2 separate regions of the Homo sapiens genome follow, and region 1 is linked to region 2. The links are contacts of gene promoters, found by promoter capture Hi-C in human tissues and cell types (Jung and others, 2019). All regions are on one chromosome and are shown on one strand. The core of a region is centred on a gene start or on the middle of the fragment in contact, and the rest is flanking DNA. Distances in the headings are between cores, read along the strand shown.

Evidence for each region. The method cuts DNA at HindIII sites, captures the fragments that hold promoters and counts their contacts. A contact is called where the count stands out against the background at its distance.
Region 1: a contact is called between a fragment that was not itself captured here and the fragment with the promoter of MEAF6 in region 2, in 1 of the 25 tissues and cell types used here (aorta).

What each region holds. Positions count from the first base shown.
Region 1 is chr1:37,884,957-37,890,318 of GRCh38, reverse strand. It overlaps INPP5B (inositol polyphosphate-5-phosphatase B), which reads left to right. Exons shown (of 24, transcript NM_005540.3): 9 at 595-762; 10 at 1,975-2,076; 11 at 2,854-2,968; 12 at 3,315-3,431; 13 at 4,494-4,681. It also overlaps the pseudogene RNU6-584P. Among named protein-coding and RNA genes, the nearest start is that of MTF1, 28 kb to the right of the region's middle. The HindIII fragment of the contact is 4,836 bases long and covers 729-5,362 here.
Region 2 is chr1:37,511,924-37,516,808 of GRCh38, reverse strand. MEAF6 (MYST/Esa1 associated factor 6) reads left to right here and starts at 2,043. Exons shown (of 7, transcript NM_001270875.3): 1 at 2,043-2,152; 2 at 3,271-3,386. The coding sequence starts at 2,063. RefSeq lists a silencer at 1,859-2,458. The HindIII fragment of the contact is 13,544 bases long and covers 1-4,885 here.

The sequences.
Region 1 (5,362 bases), core at 1,897-4,396, 370 kb before region 2:
ACTGCAGCCTCCGTCTCCCAGGTTCAAGTGGTTCTTGTGTCTCAGCCTCCCGAGGAGCTGGGATTATAGGCATGTGCCACCACACCCAGCTCATTTTTGTATTTTTGGTAGAGATGGGATTTTGCCATGTTGGCCAGGCTGATCTCGAACTCCTGGCCTCAAGTGAGTTGCCTCCCTTGGCCTTCCAAAGTGCTGGGATTACAGGCATGAGTCACCATGCCCGGCTTGTCAATTACATGATTGAATCCCATACTCTGCCACCATTCATGTGGGTGAGGCGTTAATGACACTGGGTTTCATTTTTCTCATTTAGAACTGAGGGAATTAGATTATCTTTAAGATGCCCCTCTGGTCTGAGATTCTGTGACTCTATTATTAGGAAAATCTCCAGACCAACATATTATACAATCAACAAAATATAAATTTACTTAATTCCACATAGAAATAGTGTTGTTTTAGTAGATAAATTTTACTTTGGCCTCCTTTAGTCTTCTGTGACTTAGATGCTTGTATAGGGGAACTTTTAGCTTTGTATTCATTCATTTTGCCATGGGGACTCATCCACATATGAAAAAAATACTTCTGTTTTTCCAGACAGAATAAATCCAAGTCCGAAATTACTGACATGGTTCGCTCCTCCACTATCACAGTGTCGGACAAGGCTCATATTTTATCCATGCAGAAGTTTGGACTGCGAGATACAATTGTGAAATCACATCTACTACAGAAAGAAGAGGATTACACCTATATCCAGAACTTCAGGTAGCTAACTGGGTTCTAGGATGTTTTCAGAGCAGAATGATCATTTGGCACTCTGGAATTTGAGCACTTCCTCCTATACCTGGATTTGGAGACATACTCTTCTATAGAATCTCTCCCCTCATTTTCAAAATGAGTGATTCCATGCATTCTTTATTAACAGGCATTTATTCTGTGCCCTTTCTAGGTGGGCACGGTGATAGGTGTGGTATAGTGGGAGTGACACGACTTGCAGATAGTTACAGAAATATTTGTGGAGACAAATGGGTACAGAAGAAGGAGCGCCATCCTGATTCTTTTATTTATTTATGTTTTATCTTTTTGAGACAAGGTCTCGCTTTGTTGCCCAGGCTGGAGTGCAGTGGTGCAGTCACAGCTCACTGTACCCTCAGCCTCCTGGGCCCAAGTAACCCTCCCACCTCAGCTGCTGGAGTAGCTGGTAATACACATGTGCTGATTTTTAAATTTTTGTAGAGACAGGGTCGCACTGTGTTGCCCACATGGGTCTCAAGCTCCTGGGCTTGGGCAATCCTCCCGCCTTGGCCTCCCAAATTGTTGAGATTATAAGTGTGAACCACCACACCTGGCCTCTTGATTCTTATGTATCCCTCCAAGGTTTTATACTCCCTTGGCATTCTGGGCCTTTGAAGAAAGTCATTTAAAATGAAATTACTAAAATGAAGTTAGCTGGTGTTTGGTAATCTTTTTAGGCAAGATTACTAAAAGCTAAATTAATAAAGGTTGTGGGATTCTGCTAGATCTTTCAAAATCGTTGCATTGGGACTATAAGATAAAATAACATTGTTTCTAGGGATACAAACTGTGAATTATGGTGAAGAAATAGCCTTTTGAATACTGGTGTTGCTTTCTTGCCAAAAGTAATTACCAAAGCACTTTTCATTTTTTCATTTCAGTAGTATATACAAGGCAAATAATTATGCAGATAATGCCTGGGTAATGGCTGTTTAAAGGAAGTGGGAATGTTCGGAGTAGGCCTATACTATTTGAAGTTGTTATCACAAAAGTAACAGATACCATGACAGACCGCAAGTCACTCCTTGGTGCTGCAGTCCTGGTCTAGGTTAGAAATGACATTTCTTATGTCTCAAAATGCCAGTCCACAGAGACGGAAACCAGCATAAATCAGCATAAAATGCTTTCTCCTGTTATCTCCATAGTGATTCGGAGTCACTAATTATTTCTCTTTGGTGACAGGTTTTTTGCGGGAACATACAATGTAAATGGGCAGTCCCCCAAAGAATGCCTCCGGCTGTGGCTGAGCAATGGTATCCAGGCCCCAGATGTCTATTGTGTAGGGTGAGTGCTTCTCTTCTAGTCCCCTCTCCATCTTCAAGCACACAGAGCTGTGGTTGAAGGATGGGTCTTCACAACAGGTGAAGGATTTGAAAAATGAACAGATGCCTGATAACAGCTGTTTCCCTGTTTGATGTTCTTCCTCATGGCAAGCAAATGTCTGCCACTATTAAAGTGGGGTGCTTGGCATTTAAGTGCTAGTATTTAATTTTTAGTGTAATCTTCTGTTAAAATCCTGAATTGCATCCTGAACTCAGTGCATCCTGAACTGAACTTTATTGCTTGGACATTCAATACATTTTTGGTTACAAAGCAAAACTATCTTCTGCCAGAGAAGAAAGGTTAGCTGAAGAAAGTCCCATCAGTTAGTCTTTTTTTTTTTTAATCTTCTCATCTCTATACTGGGCATTACTAGTGGGGAGGGGCAGCAAAGCTTGTATGGTATATTGAAAAGAACTAGAATTCATAATTTATGTAGACCAAGGTTTGAATCCCAGTTTGCCACTTGGTGCTTGTGTGAACTAGGGGTTACAGATGTAAAATAGGGACACTTCGAACTACTTCATAGGCTGGTCATGAAAAGAAAATGGGTTTTTGTTTGCAACAGCACCTGCAAAGTTCCTTGGCATTTAGTTCCTTGGCTCTAAATGTTTATTTTTTCCTCCTGAGGGTCCTGAAGTTTAGCTAGAAAGCTAGGGCTTATGCACCTAAACCAATCTGAGAATGTGTCATTTGCACATTACTTTTCTTTACTATCTAACTGGTTGCTTCTCAAAATAGGTTCCAGGAGCTTGATCTGAGTAAGGAAGCTTTTTTCTTTCACGATACCCCAAAGGAGGAAGAGTGGTTCAAAGCTGTGTCAGAGGGTCTTCATCCAGATGCCAAATATGCAAAGGTAAGAGAGGAGTCAGGGACCTCTTAATTTTATGTTGCCATGCAGGGAAATTCCAAGATCATTTTTCACCTTTTCCATGACCTTTATCTTAAGCCAGTCTTAATTATCCCGCAATTTTCATTTCCAGATCTTCCAGAAGGGGTGCCTCCGGGTGGGAAAGATGCAGGGTCTCGCCACTCGTAGGTTAGCACATAGCATGCTTGGTGAATTGAACAGATGATTACCTGTGTTCTAGTGTGGAGAAGGAGACACGTGAATACTCTCAGCCAGCTTCCAGACTATGTTTCCTTTGGGGTATTTATTCCTGTTTGCAATTTCTATTTAATGCCATGTCTCTCTTTTCCAGGTGAAGCTTATCCGACTGGTTGGGATTATGCTGCTGTTATATGTCAAACAGGAGCATGCAGCTTATATCTCAGAAGTGGAAGCCGAGACTGTGGGGACAGGAATCATGGGGAGGATGGTGAGTCCTTGGTTGGTTTGTTTGGCACATTGAGGACCTTAGCTCCTGAGGTATTGACCACTTCTGATGACACAGTGACTACACGTGTCCCAGTTTGAAGGTGCCAATATTCCAAGATGAATCATACCCTCAAGCAGGGCTCAGTCGAGCAAACTATTTAGAAACTGTTTTAGTGAACTACCTGCTGATTTAACCAATTAGCGCCTGTCCTCATATTCCCCAACACTAGAGCCTCCAGTTGATCCTCCCATTTCACCCATGAAGTATGTTGCAGAAACTATGCTGGGTCATTCAGAAAAACAAAGAATGCTGACAGTAGGTTTGCAATTTCCTCTTCTTATTGAGGCCATTAAAGTTCTGTTTTTAGGTTCTTCTGTGAGAGCTTAGCTTTGTGTTTTCAAAGGGTACCTATGGTTTGCCTGTGATTTAGTGAAAAGAACACTGGATTAAGGGAGCTAGGTTTTGGGGCTGGGTGTGGTGGCTCACACCTGTAATCCCAGCACTTTGGGAGGCTGAGGTGGGTGGATCACTTGAGGCCAGGAGTTCGAGAGAGTTAGGTTGTGGATTCAGCTTTGCCATTGACTGGCTAGTCATTCTGCCTTCTTTTTTTTTTTAATCTGTACAATATAGATAATACCACAGGATTATTATAAAGATTAAGACAAAACATTTTGAAAGTCTGTAGGGTTTTTTTTTTGTTTGTTTGTTTTTGAGATGGAGTCTCACTCTGTCTCCCAGGCTGGAGTGCAGTGGCGTGATCTCAGCTCACTGCAACCTCTCCCTCCCGCGTTCAACCAGTGCTCTGCCTCAGCCTCCCGAGTAGCTGGGATGACAGGCGCCTGCCACCACACCCAGCTAATTTTTGTATTTTTAGTAGAGACGGGGTTTCACCATCTTGGCCAGGCTGGTCTTGAACTCCTGACCTCATGATCCACCCGCCTCGGACTCCCAAAGTGCTGGGATTACAGGCGTGAGCCACCGTGCCCGGCCAGAAAGTTTGTAGGTTTAAGTGACTGACACAATTAAGTTTGAATTGGATTTCTTTGGGGATCCTTTCCATAGGGCAACAAGGGAGGCGTGGCGATCAGGTTCCAGTTCCACAACACCAGCATCTGCGTTGTGAATTCTCACTTGGCAGCCCACATTGAAGAGTATGAGAGGAGGAACCAGGACTATAAGGACATTTGTTCTCGAATGCAGTTTTGTCAGCCTGACCCAAGCCTTCCCCCTCTCACCATCAGCAACCATGAGTGAGTCTGGGCTTCCACCCCATGCGGTTCACCATGAGTACATAGAGTTGTGGGCTCTGTCTTTTCATGGGGAGATGCCTGGTGGTGGTTTCCTATTGCTGCAATGGTGGTAGCTCCCACCTCTTGGTTATACATGGATTATATCTCTTGAAAATATTTAGTTTCCTAACTTGCTATCTGGCAGATCTCTTGAGTCTTTCTCTTTTCTTACTTTTTTTTTTTTCGAGATGGAGTCGCGCTCTGTCGCCTAGGCTGGAGTACAGTGGCGTGATCTAGGCTCACTACAGGCTCCGCCTCCCAGGTTCATACCGTTCTCCTGCCTCAGCCTCCTGAGTAGCTGGGACTACAGGCGCCTGCCACCATGCCTGGCTAATTTTTTGTATTTTTTAGTGGAGACGGGGTTTCACTGTGTTAGCCAGGATGGTCTCAATCTCCTGACCTCATGATCCGCCCACCTCGGCCTCCCAGAGTGCTGGGATTACAGGCGTGAGCCACCGTGCCCGGCCTTCTTATTTTATTTTTAAATTTTTATTTGCATGTCATCCTTGCTCAGGGACTATGCTAATCTTCTCTGTATCATTTCAATTTTAGTATATGTGCTGCCAAAGCAAGCACACTCTAGAGTCTTTCTCAAGCATCATGTGTCCTTGGGAAGGTATAAGTTTTATTTATTTATATATT
Region 2 (4,885 bases), core at 794-3,293:
ATAGGCGCACACCACCACACCTGGCTAATTTTTTGTATTTTTAGTAGAGATGGGGTTTCACCATGTTGGTCAGGCTGGTCTTGAACTCCTGACCTCGTGATCCGCCCGCCTCGGCCTCCCAAAGTGGTGGGATTTAGCCACCGCACCCAGTGGCTTAAAAGTTTTTTTACTTGTTTGTTTTTTGGTTTACACTAGGAATATAGAGGTACTTCCTCACCTTGAAAAACAGCATCTACAAAACTCCCACAACTAATGTCATACTTAATGGTGAGAGACTGAATGCATTCGCCACCCCCCCTTTTTTTTTTTGAGACGGAGTCTCGCTCTTGCCCAGGCTGGAGTGCAGTGGCGGGATCTTGGCTCACTGCAAGCTCCGCCTCCCGGGTTCACGCCATTCTCCTGCCTCAGCCTTCCGAGTAGCTGCGACTACAGGCGCCCACCACCACGCCCGGCTAATTTTTTTTGTATTTTTTAATAAAGACGAGGTTTCACTGTGTTAGCCAGGATGGTCTTGATCTCCCGACCTTGTGATTCACCCGCCTCGGCCTCCCAAAGTGCTGGGATTACAGGCGTGAGCCACCGCGCCCGGCCTGCATTCCCCTTAAAACAGGGAACAAGGCAAGGATGTCTAATGTTATCACTTTTATTTAACAGACTACTGGAAATCTGCACAATAAGGAAGAAAAAGAAAAAGCACTCAGCTTAGAAAAAAAAAAACTCCCTATTTATTTGCAGATGAAATTATTATCTATGTAAAAATTCCAAGGAATCTATACAACCCCCCCTAAAATTAGTAAGGGAGTTCAGCAAGATGGCAGGTTACAAGATCCGCACACGAAACCAGTTATTCAGAATGCAGCACAGAGGGACAAAAAGATGGAAAATATAGACGGTAGGTTAAAAAGCTTCTTATGTTCGAGTTCCAGAAGGAGAGAGAAATGAGACAGGCATCTGAAGAAAAATGACTGCGATTTCCCAAAACTGGTGGAAGATACCAACCCACATATTATAGAAATCCAAAGACTTCCAAGCAAGAAACAAAACAAAAGGAAGAAAAAATATCCCACTTAGACTTATGATAGCGAAACTGCAGAACAGTGAAAGATGGAGAGCTGAGGACGGAGAAATCCACAGGGGCCAAGTGAAAACAACGTTTACACCTTGGACTTAACGATAAAAGCGAACTCGTACTTGCACAGTCATTGGCGCCTGCCAAACCCCTTACACATATTAGGTGATTTACTCCTCACAGCAAATGTATTAGGTAGATTCTATTACTGCTTGTATTTTACAGATGAGGGAGTTGAGATTTGGTTATTTGCCCAAAGGAGCACACTTTATCGATGTAGCGATAGGATTTTGAACAAGGTAGTTCTCGCTCCAGTTTTGTGCCCTTAACCACTACACATACTTGTTTCTCCAAAGGGCACTGGGAAAATGGGAAGCCACTGAAAGACTTTAAACCGGGGAGTGATAACATTTGTTTCTGGAAGATCCTGGCACCACTGTGGATAGTGGATTAAGTGGGGCTAAAGGTGGAAATAAGCCGCTGGAATAATGTAGCCCCAAACAGGGAGGGCCTGAATGAACTAGTGAGGTGGCAGAAGGCGCAGGCACAAGCAAATGGATTCGCGAGCTCTTCCGGAGTCGAGTCCATAGAGCTTGACCTGGGATCGCGTTTTACTCCAGGTGCAGAGTGAGGAAAACCGCGTTTCTGACGCAGGCAATTCGGTGGATAGTGAAAGTCATTCACTGAAGTGGACTGAAGCGGGGCGCACAGGAGACTCGGAGGCCTGAGGACGAGCTAGGCTTTGGACGCGGTGGATTTGTGGCGTCTGTAAAGCCGGCGGCCAGCCGAGGGGCAGGAAACGGCAGAAAGCAGAAGCCGCATCTCTAGAGCTCTCCGAGAAGGACCTTCGAGAGCCCCGGCCTTAGCGAAGCTCGGCACGGCGCTGCACGCGTCTCCGGAAGCCGCGCGCGCAGGCGCAGAGCGGGGGGGCGCCCCCTGGCGGCGCAGGGACCGCCCCCAACCTCGCGCCGCCGCCGCCCGCCTCAGCCCAACATGGCGATGCACAACAAGGCGGCGCCGCCGCAGATCCCGGACACCCGGCGGGAGCTGGCGGAGCTCGTGAAGCGGAAGCAGGAGCTGGCGGTGAGGGGCTAGGACAGGGGTTGCACGGCATGGGGCTCCGCGCCCGCCCCGCCTCCAGGCCCCAAGCCCGGCCGCGCTAGGCCGTTTGTTACTCCGGGGGCGCGGCGCGGCGGGCCGGGTGCTCGGCGGCCTGAGGCCGGGTGCGCATTCTGCGGCCCGCCGGCGGTTCAGCTTCCCGGCTGTGCGAATCCGGAGCCGGGAGAGAGCCGGGAGCGCGGGAGGGGGAGGGGAAGCGGCAGCCGCAGGAGGGGGCGTGGAGGGAGGACGGTGCCGGGGCCCGGGGAGAGGGCGCTAGGAAGGGCGAGCGTCAGTGAGCCGCGGGGGTGGGCGAGGCGGGCTAGTCCGTGATCTTTGCGGGGAGGGGGTGGGGAAGGAGGCTAGTGTGGGAGGGGGACCCAGTCACCCCGTCTGGACTTTGGAGGCTGGTGGGGAGCGTGTTCTTTTTGGTACTGGGAGTAGATCCGTTGAATGGAGGTTTTTGATAGACAGGGTTGTGATGTGTTTGGGAACATCTAGAAGGTGACAGGCGAGGGAGAAGAACACATTCCGGAGAATTCAGAATTGTGACAGGCACCCAAGGCCCAATGCACTCTGGTGGCTAAGCTCTTCCTGCCCCCGCGTCTCGGCTTGGGCACCCGGGAGGCCCCTCTCACCTGAAGCTGCCCTTCTAGGTTTCCATAGCAACTGGCAGCCCGGTGTCGGCGGCCTCTCTTGAGCCTGCGGGGAGGGGAGCGAGTTGACGCTGAAAGGCTGCTCACCTTTCCCTCTCCTGGTAGCGATACCTTTTGTGCGTGGGAGTGGACATCGCCCAAGTTCTGCGTTAGCCTGGGCTCTTGACTCATGGTTTCCGTGAATCCTCTAAAGTATATGCAAAATTTCGCGTGTGTGTGTATTTTTCTGGAGACATGCTTTATACATTCAGGGGTCCATCACCCCCAAAGGTCTAGACTGTCTTAGTCCTAAACGGCTCCTCCTCCCCGTATCTTCCATCTCTCCACAGGGTGGTTTAGTGTGGGCAAGCTTGCGTTTACGAGTCTAATATCAGGATTTCATTTTGGCCAGACTTAAGTGTTTGCATTTAAAAGGTATCATTCATGTCCTTGTTTTTCATCTCTCAGGAAACATTGGCAAATTTGGAGCGACAGATCTATGCTTTTGAGGGAAGCTACCTGGAAGACACTCAGATGTATGGCAATATTATTCGTGGCTGGGATCGGTATCTGACCAACCAAAAGTGAGTGTCGAAAGCCTGTAGTGTTCCTATTGTGCCCTAGTAACGTTTGTTTTTAGGACTGTATGCTCTTAGTGGCAACTTTGCTGGAGGCAGTAGTAAAGTAGTGGTGTGATCTGGACTTGAACTCTTGGACTCTGGCTCAGGCACTGCCTCACCGAATAATCTTAGACAAGGCTCACATCTGTAAAATAGCGAAAGTTGGGCCTATGGCACAGGGTTGTGTGAGGCTTAAATACAGTATCTTTATACAATAGCATTCTATTAAATTTTTTACACATTTTAATCAGTCATGAGTTCTACCCTCACAGTATTTTTCTTTTCTTTTTTTCTTTTTCCTCCTGAGTAGCTGGGATTACAGGTGCGTGCCACCATGCCTGGCTAATTTTTTTATTTTTAGTAGAGACGAGGTTTCTCCATGTTGGCCTGGCTGGTCTCGAACTCCTGACCTCAGGTGATCTGCTGCCTTGGCCTCCCAAAGTGTTGGGATTACAGGTGTGAGCCACCACGCCTGGCCACTTTTCTTTTTTCTAAGAGACAGGGTCTCACGCTGTTGTCCAGGCTGGAGTGCAGTAGCACGAACTTAGCTCACTGCAGCCTCAGACTCCTGGGCTGAAGTGATCCTCCCACCTCAGCCTCCCAATTAGCTGGGACTACAGGCACACCATACTGTACCTGACTAATTAAAAACTTTTTTTTGTAGAAGTGGGATCTCACTTTGTTGCTCAGGCAGGCCTGGAACTCCTGGTTTCAAGCAGTCCTCCTGCCTCAGCTTCTCAAAGTGTTGGAATTAAAGGGGTGAGCCACCACGCCCAACTGACCCTCACAATTTTTGCCATACCTGTGTGCCAGCTGTACCACTGCTTACTTAGTAATATTATTTTTAAAAAATTTCTAAACTTTTAGAAAATCTTCAAATTATAGGAAAATGGGAAGAATAGTATATGAACACTTGATACCCTCCTACCTATATTCACAAATTGTTAATGTGTTGTGACATTTGCTTTCTCTTACTTTCTATAATATATATTAATATAAGCACACATCTATATTTACATTTCACATTTTTAAATTGTGAAATAATTATAGATTCATAGGGAGTTGGCAGAATGGTCTCTTGTACCCTTCATCTGGTTTTCCCCAATGGTTGTGTTTTATGTAGCTATAATACAGTATCAAAGCCAGAAAATTGACATTGGTACAATGTATATATATAGTTCTGTGTCACTTTATCTTGTGTGTAGATTCATGTAACCACAATGAAGTTACTGAACTATTCCATTACCACAAAGATCTTCCTCATGCCACTCCTTTGTAGTTATATCTCCCAGTCCCCCTACCTTTTTTTCCCACTTAACGGTTTGAAAGTTAGATGCAGGTAAATGACACTTTGCACCTAAATGTGTCAGTAATTACCTCCTGAGTATAGGGCCATTTCTTCTACCTAACCAGTTATTATACCTAGAAAATCAATACTGCATTAATAGTATCTAATACATAGT